Linked DNA regions of Homo sapiens: regions 1, 2 and 4 are each linked to region 3. Evidence: promoter capture Hi-C in 16 types of primary human blood cells and fetal thymus (Javierre and others, 2016). All regions are on one chromosome and are shown on one strand. The core of a region is centred on a gene start or on the middle of the fragment in contact, and the rest is flanking DNA. Distances in the headings are between cores, read along the strand shown. Region 1 has its middle 96 kb from the start of LINC02000. Region 2 has its middle 65 kb from the start of LINC02000. Region 3 holds the start of C3orf36 (chromosome 3 putative open reading frame 36). Region 4 overlaps RYK (receptor like tyrosine kinase).

Evidence for each region. Contacts are between HindIII fragments. The CHiCAGO score rates a contact against its expected background, and 5 or more counts as called.
Region 1: a fragment that was not itself captured here is called in contact with the fragment with the promoter of C3orf36 in region 3 in 1 of 17 cell types (endothelial precursors); the score reaches 5.4 in endothelial precursors.
Region 2: a fragment that was not itself captured here is called in contact with the fragment with the promoter of C3orf36 in region 3 in 1 of 17 cell types (endothelial precursors); the score reaches 6.8 in endothelial precursors.
Region 4: a contact is called between a fragment that was not itself captured here and the fragment with the promoter of C3orf36 in region 3, in 2 of 17 cell types (endothelial precursors and megakaryocytes). The highest score is 8.7, in endothelial precursors.

Annotation. Positions count from the first base shown.
Region 1 is chr3:134,151,529-134,154,925 of GRCh38, reverse strand. No RefSeq gene overlaps it. Among named protein-coding and RNA genes, the nearest start is that of LINC02000, 96 kb to the right of the region's middle. The HindIII fragment of the contact is 4,954 bases long and covers 1-3,397 here.
Region 2 is chr3:134,120,708-134,124,279 of GRCh38, reverse strand. No RefSeq gene overlaps it. Among named protein-coding and RNA genes, the nearest start is that of LINC02000, 65 kb to the right of the region's middle. The HindIII fragment of the contact is 714 bases long and covers 1,764-2,477 here.
Region 3 is chr3:133,927,760-133,931,561 of GRCh38, reverse strand. It overlaps C3orf36 (chromosome 3 putative open reading frame 36), which reads left to right and starts at 1,750. Exons shown (of 1, transcript NR_161373.1): 1 at 1,750-3,417. RefSeq lists a silencer at 3,592-3,802. The HindIII fragment of the contact is 5,965 bases long and covers 25-3,802 here.
Region 4 is chr3:134,175,173-134,179,096 of GRCh38, reverse strand. RYK (receptor like tyrosine kinase) reads left to right here. Exons shown (of 15, transcript NM_002958.4): 11 at 1,024-1,156; 12 at 3,058-3,167; 13 at 3,329-3,488. Among named protein-coding and RNA genes, the nearest start is that of RYK, 74 kb to the left of the region's middle. The HindIII fragment of the contact is 4,593 bases long and covers 1-3,924 here.

The sequences.
Region 1 (3,397 bases), core at 450-2,949, 220 kb before region 3:
ACATACAAATGTAGGAGTATAGCATATAGACTATTTTTAAAGCCATGGTACTGGATGGAGTTGATAGGGAGAGAGTGTATAGATGGAGAGGAGGTCCTAGGACTGAGTCTTGAGCATTCTAACCTTCAGTTCCAGCTAGTGAAGAAAGAAGAGATAACAAAGACAGGAAAAGCCACTGTAATTGATAAAAGCAACAACAAAAAAGTGAAAATGAGGTGTTGCAGGAGCCCAAGAAAGGTCGTGTTTCAAAATGGAGACGCCTCCATCAGATTTGGCAATATGGAGTTAACTGGCAGGAGCATGGGGACTGGAGCAAGTCGAAGTGTGGACACAGGTGGGGACGTAAAGGCCTACCACTGTCAGCCCTGCTGTGAAGGGAAATGAAGCAATAACTAGAGGAGATCAAAGGGGGTTTTTCGGGAGAAGAGGGACAGGGATGAGAGTGTTTTCCAGATGAAGGTACAGTGCCAGAAAATGTTTCATGGGCTCATGGGAATGATCCGGTAGAGGGAGAAAAATCCCTCTGGGGTATGGGCCACTGCTCTTCCTTGCCATTTGGTCCACAACCATGAAAGCCTTTCACTCTGGCCCCGAGCCCTTTTGTTGTATAAGGGTTGTGTGTTTACTGGGGGAGAAATGTGAGGGAGGTAAGGTAAGGGAGGCGGTACACAAAACTGCCACCGTCCCATTACCCAACAGCCTGCCTCTGTTGAGGGGCTTTCCTGGGACTTCAGACTGGCACCCTCATTGTGCTTGCAGCTGTCATGTTTCCTTGCCCAGATTGCCCATAGCTGCTTCCCTGGCCTCGGCCTTGAACCCCTCTAGCCAGCAACTGCCCAGGTAACACTTTATAAAACTGAGCCGCTGTCCCTGCTTGGAGCCTTCAGAGTAGACTTCAGACCTAGGCAGAGTATCCACTCAGCTCTGCCGTTTCTCCTGCTCCCCACTTCGGGCCTGCACGCTTCCCGCCGCTCGGCATGCTCCTTCCCCTTCTCCGAGAATGACGTGCTCCCCGCACTCCCCACACTGCCGCCTTGGGACCAAGAAGGTGCCTCTCACACCTTACTGCTCTCCTCCAGGCTTCGTGGTTGCTTTTCAGCCTTTTTCCCTGGATTTGAACTTTAACAAAGGTAAGATGGAGGTTTATTTTTCACCACTTGGCTGTGAGTTCCTTGAGGATAGGAACTTGTGTTTTACTCAGATCTGAATCTCCATTGCTTTAGTGGTGTGCTCAATACATGGTAGGGGTGAATATTTAATGAATGAATGAGTGAAAATATCTAAATTTTGCACAGGAGAGCAATTAGAGAGGCTTAAACAGGAAGGAAGTCTTCTAATTCCTTAAAAGCATTATCTCATATTTGAAGAGTTCAAGTTTGATGCAACATAAACTGATAAAGTTTGAAATAAAAAGAGACAGGTTGGTAGGAAAGACCATTCATATCCTATCCCCAAACTGGCTTAAGTCCACTCCCACTGCCCCCAGCTACCACCTTTTTACTTTATTCTACCTGCTATTTCTTTGGCCACCGGAATAATAAGCCTGATGTAAATTCTGTTTCATACTCCCACAGGTCAACTTTTTTTGGAGTTTGACAATAATTATTCCAAGTCAAGTAATTCATTGATTTTAGTGGAAGATTGTTTTCCAGGTGTTATTCTTCCATGCGCCTCACCCCCATCTCATAAAGTAGAAAAGAGATGATTTAATTTATGGGTCTAGAAAATAAAAATGTAAATACTTGCTTGTTAAATTAATTTTTTTCTACCTTCATTTTTACCTTTAATATTTCAAGATAATATTGGACTTAATTCTCTGAGACACACAAACATCCTGCATAAGTATATTGACAACATACATTTTATATGTAAGTGAACCATATGGGTGAGCCTCTGCTTTCTCCCTGACAGCGCTGTTCTTTAAGAAATTAAGGCTAACCAGGTCTATAGGTTTTAATGGGAGATGTCTCCTAACTTTTCAAAGACCAGATGTTCTTGTTATACTGATAAAAACTTATTAAAAAAAAAAAGAAATAGGGATTGATGATGTTCAACATTATTCTCTTTGAACAAATACATCATTTGTTCATACTTGGTTTCTCAGTATTTCAACAATAAAGCATGTTTTAATGATTTGTCTTTAGAGGAGTGAGCACTCCTCTGGGGGTATATTACAACTGGGAAAAAAAATATAGTTTGAAAATAAAATAACTGTTTACCCTTAAAGAAATTAACTCTATGGTGCCTTAAGGTTACATTTGCAATAAACTTTTTTACATCTTTCTGAGTCTTTTTTTGCTTTTTGCCTTCTTGGCTCTGAGAATAAGCATAGGCTGATATTAGATAGGTTTGTATCATTAGGGATAGCATTTAGCTGCAAGTAATGGAAAAATTCAACCATAATCACTTAACCAAAGGCAGGTCATTTTTCTCCCATAACAGCTCCAGAGAGAGATAAACCAATGCTAATGCAGTGATCCCAGGGTGTCATCCATTGCCAGTCTCCTCCTGTTTTGCTGCTCTGCCGTCTTTAGCATGCTGTGGTTCTTAGGGACCCCAAGGGCCTAGAGCTTGTTCCAGATAGGAAGATGAGCAAGGGCAAAAAGCAAGAGGCATGAGTTACTGAGTCCTTTTTGTGAGGAAACTACTAACTTCCTGTAGTATGCTTCCACCAACAACTTAATATCCTGAACGCACATGAGCACTCCATGCGCTACAGGTGGGTAATGCCAGGAAATTAGATTTTGTTATTTTTTGAAAACAGCTTTATTGAGATATAATTCTAGTATCACCCATTTAAAGCGTGTAATTCTCAGTGATTTTTAGTGTAGTCACAGAGTTGTATAATCATCGCCACAATCTAATTCATTTTTATTACCCTAAAAAGAAACCCCATACCCATTAGCAGTCACTCCCAATTCCACCCTCACCCTCAGCTCTAGGCAACCACGAATCTACTTTTTGTCTGTATAGATTTGCCTGTTCTGGACCATTCATATAAACGGAATCACACAACATGTGGTCTTTTGTGTTTGGCTTCTTACATTTAACATAGGATTTTCAAAATTCCTTCATGTATCATGTATCAGTACTTCATTCTTTTTTATTACTGACAGATATTCCATTGTATGGATATAAACCATTCATCAGTTAATGCATATTGGAGGAAATTGAGTTTTGAGTTGATCACGTTCTTGTTGTATACAAAATTGGGCTTCTATTGGTAAGGAAGGCGATGGCTCTTGAGGAACGGCTAGCAGTGTCTGCCGCTTTGCAGAAATGTGCTGGTATTTGGCTTCCTTTAGCAATATATTTAATGCTTCAAAAGTTCTGTCAAAGTACAGTGATTGTGAAGAGTCTTAGTGACTGTAGGGAGTGTCCAGTCAGCTTGGTGTTT
Region 2 (3,572 bases), core at 871-3,370, 190 kb before region 3:
GGAAACCCCCAGGGCTTGGCTTTTACAATCTTGGCCACAGGAGAAACCCACTATGAAATTGGGCATAACATAAGGAGCTGCCTAAAGATTGCAGAGAGATGTTGCTCCAGAGAGGGAACTCTCACAGGCATCTGAGCCCTGAGCAGCCTCAGCTGGGCGCCATTTTGAGAGCTTAGATACGGGGGATCTACATATGATGGCTGTTGCCACTGCATTGCTCCAAGGAGGGTGCGAGGGAAACTAGGCACTCCCATGCACCATTGGGAGGGTCTCCATCACCCTACTGAGGCTGCTGTTGAGAATGGAATGTGAGCAGACTGCACTCCTTACAGCTGCTTGCTTGGGAGGGACCCCGCCTTCTCTAGTCTCAGGCCCAAGGTGCCACCTTGAGGGTTTGACACTGGGCTGTGCCTCACCCTAAGGCTGAATTCAGGCTTACCTGGCAGTAACTGTTGCCTGGCCAAGGAGGGTCGGGGAAACCAGGCCCTCCTATGCACATCTAGGACAAAACCCACTGCCCTACAATAGGCGGCTGTGAAACTGAGACACGAATGGTACTGCGCTTTCACAGCTTCTTGCTTCTGCTGTTTGCCTGAGAGAAGCCCCGCCGTCTCTGGTCACAAGCCCACAGCTGACACCATTTTGAGAGTTTAACGTTGGGCTATGCCCTGCCCTCAGGCGGAGTTCAAGTTGATGAAGCTGCAGCTGCCACCCATCTGAGGAGGGACAAGAAAACCAAGCTCTCCTACATGTTCCTAGGACAATATCCACCACCCTGCTATAGGCTGCTGTGAGACTGAGACTTGAGTGTGACGCACTGTCCACAGCTTCTAGCCCATGCTGCCCACCCTATCTGTTCAGAAACTCATAGGTGGCACCATTTTGAGTTTAATGAGTTTAATGAGTTTAAGGATGGGCCCATCCTTGAGCCGAGTTATAAGTGATGTACTGCAGCTGCCTCCCATCTGGGAAAGGGACAGGAGAGATTAAGCTCTTCTAAGAACATTCAGGACAATATCCACTGCCCTGCTGCAGGAGGCTGAGGACCTGGGGACTAGCCCACCCAACCCGTAACAGCTTCCAGCAACAACACAGACTGCTTGGATCCCATTTGGATGTTCCACCACCACTACTGTCACCACCCACACAACACCAGCTGCCCATTGGACTGAGAACCCACCCACACACCTGGCCCACCACTGTCACTACTAACTTCTAAACAAGCCGCCTGGAGGCCCAAGAATCAGCTCTCTAGAACCCACTAATACTGGAGCCAGTGCAAGTTGCTCTGGAGCCTACAAACAGTCACATTCACCCCACTGCTGCTGCTGTTGGGTGAAGACTAGTGCAGTTGTCACTGAAGTCCCCAGAAAATTTCACCACAACCTCAGCTAATCACTGTTCCTGAAGCCACTAAGGAAGTCACAGATACCATGGACCCTGTGTGCTGCCAGAGAAGTCATACTAAGATCACACTATCACAGGCACCCAAAATCAAAGCCAAAGTATCATCATATTCAACCAACTACATACATACGTGTTCAGGAAAAATTTCTACCCTATGAAAGCAATTTCAAAAGCTGGAACAAGAGACTGCTACACCAGATGTGCAGATATCAATGGAAGGACACAGGAAACATGAAAAAGCAGGGAAATATGACAGCACCAAAGGACTACAACAATTGTCCAGCAATAGATCTTAATAAAAAAGAATTTCTCAAAATGCCAGGTAAATAATTCAAACCACTGATTTTAAAGAAGCTTAATGGGATGCAAGAGAAATCTGAAAATCAATACAAAGCAATCAGAATATAAATTCAAGATATGAATGAGAAATTTACCAAGAAATTATCTCTTTTAAAAAAAGTGGAAATTTTGGAATTAAAGAATTCATTGAAGGAAATATGAAATACACTTAAAACCTTAGTAATAAACTAGACCAGAAGAAAGAATGTCACAACTTGAAGACAAATATTTTGAAATAATCTAGTCGGAGAAAAATAAGGAAGAAAATAATAAAAAAGAATGAACAAAGCCTTTGAGATGTCTAGGACTGCATGCAGTGACCAAACTAATGAATTATTGGTATTCCAAATGGGGAAGAGAGATAAAAAAGTTTAGGAAATCTATTTAAGGAAGTAATTGATGAAAACTTCCAAAGTCTAACAAGACAGACATCCAGATACACAAGGCCTAGGAATCCCCAGGCAAATACATTGCAAAAAGGACTTCACCATGCAATATTATATTCAGAATATATAACATTCTCCCTAACTCAGTCTAGAGTTAAAGTGAAAGAAAGAGTTTTAAATTACAAAAAGAAGAGCACCTAGTCACCTATAAAGACAACCTCATCAGACTCACAGTGGACTTTTCAGCAGTAACCTCACAGGCCAGAAGAGAATGGGATGGCATTTTCAAAGTGCTGAAAGAAAAAAAAAATCAGCAAAGAACTTTATACCCTGCCAGAATAAGCTTCGTAAATGAAGGAGAAAAAAAGTCTTTCCCAGACAAGCAAATGCTGAGGGAATTTGTCACCACTAGAGAGGCCCTACAGGAAATGCTTAAAGGGGTCTAAAACATGGAAATTAAAGGTCAATGTTCACCATTATGAAAACACATAATATAAAACTCACAATTCTTATAAAACAACTACAATAAGGAGGAAGAGAAAGGAATTTAATGGCAACATGACCAAATTTCATTAAACCACAAAGGCAAAAAGAGAAAAAAAATGAAACAAGCATTTATAAAACAACTTGAAAACAATTCATGATATGACAAGAATAAAGCCTCACATATCAAGATTAACCTTGATTGTAAATAGATTAAATGCTTACTTAAAAGATAGAAATGGGCAGAATGTATTTTTAAAAAATAATAATGCAACTATATACTGCCTACCAGAAACTCACCCTACCCATAAAGACATATATAGACAAAGTAAAGGGGTAGAAAAAGATATTCCACACAAATGGAAACCAAAAGCAAGCAGGAGTAGCTATACTTACAGATAAAACAGACTTTAAATTAAATATGGCAATAAAAGACAAAATCATTATATAATGATAAAGGTATCAATTCAGCAAGAGGATATAACAATCATATATATGTGTATGTGTTGGATATATATATCTCCAACATCAGAGCACCCAAATTCACAAAACAAGTGTTACTAGACCTAAAGAAAGAGATAAACAGCAATCAAATAATGGTAGGGGACTTCAACATCCCACTCACAACAATAAACAGATCATCAAGACAGAGAGTTAACGAAGAAACATTGGACTTAAATTAGACTTGAGACCAAATAGACTTAACAGTCATTTACAGAACATTCTACCCAACAAGTACAGAATATACATTCTTTTCATCAGCCCATGTAACATTCTGCAAGATAGACCACATGTTAGGCCACAAAACAAGTCTTAAGAAATTTTTTAAATCATAATTATATCAAGTATCTCCTCAGACCACAGGGGGATAAAGGTAGAAATCAATACCAAGAGGAACTTCAGAAACTATACAAATACATGAAACTTAGACAGCATGCTCCTGAACTGTCTCTGAGT
Region 3 (3,802 bases), core at 501-3,000:
AGAGACATTCTCACTTCACAAGCTTGGATGTGCAAAAAGAAAAAAATCACTTATTTCTTTAAATCAGTTATTGATTTCAAACCCCCCATCCTACTGTCTGGCTGGAAATTCAATATCAACCATGCTTGGGTCTGGCTCCTAGAGCCATCTGAAGGTCCTTGGATGCCTACGCATTCAAGGGTGCCATTGTGGGTCTTTGGTCCCTTTCCCATTTGAGGCTGTTTAATGGCCCTGCTTCTCACCTGAGCCTGGAAACCCTACAAAGCCGAGACCCCAGGGTTAGGCCCACCTCCCTGTGCACACTCGCGGCTATGCCCTCTCCCGGCCCCAGTCCTAGGAAGCCCACTCCTCTGCACCACTCCCTCTCCCTACAGAATCCCGCTCCTCAAGGGCTGAACAAAAAAGCCGGAAAAGGAAGAGTGTGCAGGAACCTTTTTTATTCAATCCTTCTTTTACCCTTCTTGGAAAAAGCGCAAATACAGTGATAACTAAATACCGTATCTCTATCAATTATCCTTTGGCCCAAAGCCCTTTGGGGTGATCCTCCATGATGGATGCCCCATGTAAAGGTGAGGAATCTGATCCCGAGGAAGCAACCATTGTGGCCAATTTCACATAGATAATAGCTGGCCAGGTCTAGACTCAAACCAGGCTGTCCACTTCTCTCTGGTCCAGCCCAATTGCCCCAGCTGAGTCATTCTGAAGAGTCAGCATGGACTAAAATGGTGGGGAGGCCCCTCTTTTCCCACTGATGTTCACTGGCCCATGGGAGGGAAGTGGGGGAATCTCTTGAGGGCCATTAAGGTGGGTAACAAAGGCAAAAGAACCAGGTAACAGTTCATTTACTTACCTTCTATTCAACTAGCAACAACATCACAACTATTCATTAAACAGGGCCAATTTATCCCTATAGCACCATGAGTTAAAGAGAGTTGTGGAGAAAAGAGACAAAGAGGGAAGGGTTTTGAGAAGAAAAGGCCCTGAGAATCCTGCACACAGACCTTCAAGGGAACAGCTCCATCTGGTGACTGCTTAGCAGATTCTTGCTCAAGAAACAAAGCCATATTGTGATTTTATTCAACCACTCTCAAAGATGGAGAGATACAGTTAAGCTGGAGGCTGAAGCCAGTCAGTATCAAATTGATACTAAAATATTATATTGCAGCAAATCCAGAAGAAATACATCCTATCTTTCGCAACCACAGGAAGTAAATACCTGGAAGAAAGGTCCATCTCCTGCCAGTAGCACCAGACACCAGATTCATTATAACCTTTCATCAGAGATTAAATATGGAAACAGATCCTGGAAAAGCCCTTGGCAAATCATAAATGAGAGGAAGTTTTTCTCCATGGCATACCCTGGCCATTCCTCCACTCTCCAGCCACATCATGTCTCCAGCCCTGCTACAACTTGACAGCAATAATAATAACTAAAATGTGCACAGATCTTTACAGTTTACCAAGCCATTAACCCATTTAAAACACTTCTTTAATCAGTAAATCAGTGGGGAAAGGCTTGGCTATGCTGTGGTAACAAACCTCTCGAATCTTAGTCACTTGACACAACAAAAGATGGTATCTCGCTCACAGAACCTGTGGTGATCTGGGTGACTCTCAGGTCAGTGGCTCAGTAGTGCCCCTCTGCCTGCTCAGGGCCTGGAGGATTGGCCTGAGAGCCCCCCCAACCAGTGTCTCAGTAACTCAGACTGTTTGGAACCTGAGGTACCTCCATTTCATTATAAGCTGCCATGATGGATGGGGCAGGGGAAGAAAGTCCTGGAAGATCCCGCACTGCTAAGCAATGCTTTGTCCCAAAGTAACGCTCTTCACTCTGCTCCCAGCCTAGCTGCCGCAAGAGCGGAACAGAATATTCTGTGTGCTCAGGAGAAGAAAAGAGCAGATATGGTTGAGCACTAAAACCCTCTACTGTGGGTAGTGAACCTAGGTGGACACAGTTGCTCACCGGGACACTTAAACCAGCTTTGCGGGGCTGTCGGGGTTGGGAAGCACAGTCTGGAAAGATTTCCCAATGGAGGAAGCACCAATTGTGGGTCCCTGAAGCTGAGGGGATGATGCCCAGGCAAGGCCGAGGCAGTCTGCAGAGGGCTGGGGAGGTGGGAAAGACGATTTTGCTCAGAGGAGGCAGAGATGGGGTGGTGGCTGAGAGAGATGCAGGGTCAAGGAAAGGATGGCTTCAGAGAGGAGAGATTTGCTGGGGCAAAAGGCCACAGGATGGGGAGGCTGCGGGGTCCAAGAGGACAGCTGATGGAGCGAGACCCTGCAGGCAAGGAGGAGATGGGGTGACTCATGGCAGAATCGCACCAGAGTTCCCACAGCCCTGTGCGGCCACTATGACTAGTCCCATCCTGTACATGGAGAAAACGAGGCTCCTTCCAGTTGTCCCTCACGCCTCCCTTGATTTATGTACTACCTGATGTGTATAAGGACAGGTGGTGACAAACACATGGTCCCTACCCTTCAAGGACATATAATCCAGAGCTAAGACAAGACCTTAACACAGGGCAAAGTACTATGCTCTGAGTTCATTTGATGAGCGATGGGAGAACGGGCTTGATCCTAGCCATGCGGGAGAGACTGGAATTCAAGAGAGTCAAATGTGCTGGGAAAGACTTTCTGGGCAAAAGGAATAAGCAAAGGTGTGCAAAGGTAAGGAAGCAGGAAACCTTTGCACATCTTGAGAACTCGCCGGCCAGAGGCCTGTGAAGGAGCGCAGTGGTCAGGCAGGAGAGGCAGTCGGATGCAGGCTGAGACCATCCTGGAGGGTCTTGAGGCTGGCTTACCCCAGGCTGTGAGTAGTGGGCTCAGCCTAGTCCCGGCTCCTGGGTTAGTGCTCACGTGTCTCTCTGCCCCCTCAGGGCCTGGAGGAATGGCCTTAGAGCCCCCACCAACCACGCTCAGGAAGGCATTCCTAGCTCAGAGTACCCTCCTGGAGTCTACACTGGAAGGGGCTCCTGAGTGGGCCGCGCCACACCCCGAGGAGCAGAGGCGCAGTCCTCCCGCGTGCTCCCAGCACACTCCACCCCTACCCAGCACACCCACGGGGCCCCCACCTTGCTCACCTGGGGGGAACCACCCACTCTGCGCCCTCTCAGGGAGAGGTGGTGGCCGCTGCTCTATCCCCTCCCTCTCTTCCTCTTCCACCTTCTCTCTCTTCTCATCTGGGTGCTGGAACCCAAGGGTGAAACTGAGAGTCAGAAAGTCTCAGTCTCAAGGCAGAGCGGGGCAACTAATTTAAAACGGCTTCTACTCCGGCCCCCAGTGTGACTAATCTCCTTCTCTTCGCTCCACAGGTCTATAAATGGGCCACAGTAGGCACCCCTTTTTAAATCTGTAAAATCCCCAAATCCATTAAAAGTGACTTCAGAGGTCCCAGATAGGGACCAACATTTGTTTAAACCTTTTCCTCATTACATCTCATGACCGCCAGCTTACAAAAGAGAGACTGGGGGTTCTGGATGAGACGTATGCAATCCCTGAGTCCACCTTGGAAAGGACAGAGGCAGGTGTCACACCGTTCCTCTTTGACCCGAATCGCTTGAATCCCAGAGTTTCAACAGCTCAGGTGGGTTGAAGGCTCAGAATGTACCAGACATCCGAAGCGCTTTACATACATTTGCTCCTTGAATCTTCACGACAGCCCTGTGAGATGCAATAATCATGCCATTCCACAGACGAGGAAACGGGCCCAGGGGACTGCGGTCTCGGCTCCTTTCCTCTGGCTTTCTCAGAAAAGGCGCGGAGGCCCCCGCCGGGTGGGCGAGGCGGGGTGGGCGGCCCCTTG
Region 4 (3,924 bases), core at 1,037-3,536, 250 kb before region 3:
TCTCATATTGTGACCAATTGTGACTTATTATCCTGTTATTCTTTCCTTATTAAACATCCTTAGAAGCAGGATTTGCCAAGTTAAGGAGTAGGAATGTTTTAAGGCTATTTGTTACTGTTATTTGTTATTAAATGTTTGTTTTATATAGCATAGATTACGAAGTGTTGGGTATAAAAATTGAGTTTACCTTAGTTTTTGTCTTCTAGCAATTTTTAGCTTAGTGGGGAAGATGATATAATTATGTAAAAAGTTACATAACCTTGGGAAAAATTAGCAGTTATTTCCAGATGTCAGTGGAGGAGGTGTTATTAGACAGTAGGATGAAATGTATGTATGTATGCCATAGAAATTAAAATAGGAACGGGATTGTCCACTACATGCTTGGTTTTATTTTGCACATCACAGCAACCTTTTATGGTTGGTGGGGTCCCTATGTTATAAGAATGGAAACCAAAGCCAAGAGAAGATGGTCACTCTGATAGTAATTGGTAAATCTAGGATTCAAAAATCTGATTCTAAATCCAGTGTGACCAGCTAAGAACTTTTTGGCTTTTGTGGCAGTTTCAGCCTTTTAGAGACCTTTTTTGATGATCATATTCTTGACCACCGTCTGGATTGGGCCTTTTTTTTTTTTCATGTGTGATAATGGAGTAAGTGGGATATTGTTATCATAATACACTCATGGGCAAGTCAGTTTTTAGATGTCTCTGATTAATTGCCCTTTGGAGTAAAGATATAGTGTGGTTAGAGTGTGCCTTCAGAGAATCCAGCCCACAGGAAGCAACTTTGAGTTTATGATTTTTCCCTACCAAGAATGTGCATATATGGGGATATATGCACATATATAGGGGACACTTAAGTCTGGTTTAAAATACAGAACACTTATAATTTTACATTTTTAATGGTAATCATGTTTTTAAGTATTTTGGGGATTTTGTTTTGTTTTAGATTATTTTTATTAGAAGTAAGCCCCTAACATTTTGGATTCCTTTGTCTTTCTCCCAATTTTTTATTATTTTATAGAAATCTTCTTCCTATTACTCATGTGTGTATAGAAGAAGGAGAAAAGCCCATGGTGATATTGCCTTACATGAATTGGGGGAATCTTAAATTGTTTTTACGACAGTGCAAGTTAGTAGAGGCCAATAATCCACAGGTGAGAAAAATTTGCCCAAATACCAATTATTTACCAGTAGTTTCTGATAATGTCTTTGAAAGTAGATATTAACATTCTTAAATATAAACTGTTTAGAGGCCTGCAAAAAAGAACCTCAAAATGAACCACAAGATATTTATAACCTGTTGGCTTAAAGGAAAATGTTGGCTTATGTTCCTGCCTTGAGGCTTACACTGTGCTGATGCTGAAGTTTTCCTTATATTCTCGTTGTGTACTTATTCATAATCAACTCAAACCCTTTGTAATGCCATCTTAGGTGTTTTCCTGATAACTGAGGGTACTTGTCCTAGATCTTCCTCTTAGGAATGGAAACAGACTTTCTAGAGCCATTTGGTTCATACTATACCAAAGTCTGGTGATGACTGGAGGTCTAGATTGTGGGAGATAATTGGATGTATTGTTAATATGCGTGGCTGTAAGATGGCAGTCATCTAAGAGTGTTTCTCTTCCCTGCTTGTGTTTATAACTGTAAAGCAAAGGTCAGATACCAAGCATATTATGATGGTAGTGGTAGTAAAGCCTAGTGGGTTTTTTTTGCTGTCAGCTGTATCTTGTTGTCCCATTAAGTTGCTTTAGGATTTATAATAGTATGCTTATTATAGTTGCCAGGAGAAAGTGGGTTCAAAGGCTGCATTCAGTATTTGGCCTAATATGTATCATATGCTTTGTAAATTGACAAGACTAAAGCTGGGATTCTCAATAAGTGGTTAGAGGCTGTGGCTCATCTGCATTACCTGGGGAAGGATTTTATTCCTCAGCCCCAAGTACTGTCATACACCTAGAAGAACACATCAGCAGAAAAAGCTAGGAGCTCGTACTTTGGGTTTGTGTGTGGTTTTTTTTTGTTTGTTTTTTGTTTTTTGTGTTTTTTTTTGAGATGGAGTCTCGCTCTGTCGCCCAGGCTAGAGTGCAGTGGCGTGATCTCAGCACTGCCAGCTCTGCCTCCCAGGTTCACGCCGTTCTCCTGCCTCAGCCTCCCGAGTAGCTGGGACTACAGGCGCCTGCCACCACGCCCGGCTAATTTTTTGTATTTTTAGTAGACGGGGTTTCACCGTGGTAGCCAGGATGGTCTCAATCTCCTGACCTCGTGATCTGCCTGCCTCAGCCTCCCAAAGTGCTGGGATTACAAATGTGAGCCACCGCACCCAGCTGCAGGGTTTTTTTGTTTTTTGTTTCATTAGACAGGATCTCAGTCACCAAGGGTAGAGGGCAGTGGTGTGATCACAGCTCACTGCAGCCTCAACCTCCCATGCTTAAGCAATCCTCCCACCTCAGCCTCCTGAGTAGCTGGGACCACAGGAACATGCCACCATACCTGGCTAATTTAAAAAAAAATCATTTTGTGTAGAGACAGGGCCTCAGTATGTTGTCCAGGTTGGTCTCGAACTCCTGGGCTCAAGTGATCCTCCCACCTCAGCCTTCCCAAGTGCTGGGATTATAGGCATGAGCCACTGCACCAGGCTTAGATTTGTGTTAATTTGAAAATAATCCCAAAGAGAGAATCTCCTAATAAAAACTACTGTTTGGGGGAAAAAAAGATTACTGAATTATAAACATTTGAAATATTACCTTGAGAACTCAGCATTCACTGAACAGATGTATTGAGCAGCTGCTGTGTGTGCTGGATATTGGGGAGATACATCTAACAGATGAAAGGAGACAGAGTAAATGGTAGATTACAGAATAATAAGGACTACAGTTGATATAAGTATAGGGATATATGGGAACATAGTCTTGGTCAAGAAATAGCTTTTAAAAATTCTGTGTGTAGGTTTAAAGCAGTATTTTTGGATGGAGTAGGATTGTGGAATAAAAAAAGTAAGAAAGTGCCATCATATTTGTGTGCTATTTGCAAACCATGTTATTTTTTGTTACCACAGGCAATTTCTCAGCAAGACCTGGTACACATGGCTATTCAGATTGCCTGTGGAATGAGCTACCTGGCCAGAAGGGAAGTCATCCACAAAGACCTGGCTGCCAGGAACTGTGTGTAGGTGCCATGAGCTTGACGCTGTCACTTGATGTAGAGTGCTTCCTGGATTTGGGGTTCTCTGCGAGTCACAGTGGGACTTGTGTTGTATTTAAGGGTGGTGATGATCCCTACTTTTTAATACTCTGATTGCATTTGATGTTCATATCTTTACTTTTCAGCATTGATGACACACTTCAAGTTAAGATCACAGACAATGCCCTCTCCAGAGACTTGTTCCCCATGGACTATCACTGTCTGGGGGACAATGAAAACAGGCCAGTTCGTTGGATGGCTCTTGAAAGTCTGGTTAATAACGAGTTCTCTAGCGCTAGTGATGTGGTAAGTGCCGGGACCCCCAGATAGCAAAAGAATAGAGAAACAGCTTTCTGTTTTTAAATGTTCTACTATTTTTATCTTTTGGGTTTTTAAAAAATCTGCTAGCTGTTCCCGGAAATTTTTATCCAGAAAGCAAGTGTAATTAGCTGCCAGTCAACCAGTTTATGGAGAGGAGCTGTGACCCAGACCATAGGCCAGCACTGTTTGTAATCTCATTTCATCCTCACAGTACTGCTCTGACAGAAGCACTTTTTTTTTTTTTTTTTTTAAGACAGAGTTCCACTCTTGTAGCCCAGGCTGGAGTGCAATGGCGCAATCCTGGCTCACTGCAACCTCTGCCTACCAGGTTCAAGCGATTCTCAGGCCTCAGCCTCCCAGGTAGCTGGGATTACAGGCGTGTGCCACCATGGGCACATGCCCAGCTAATTTTGTATTTTTA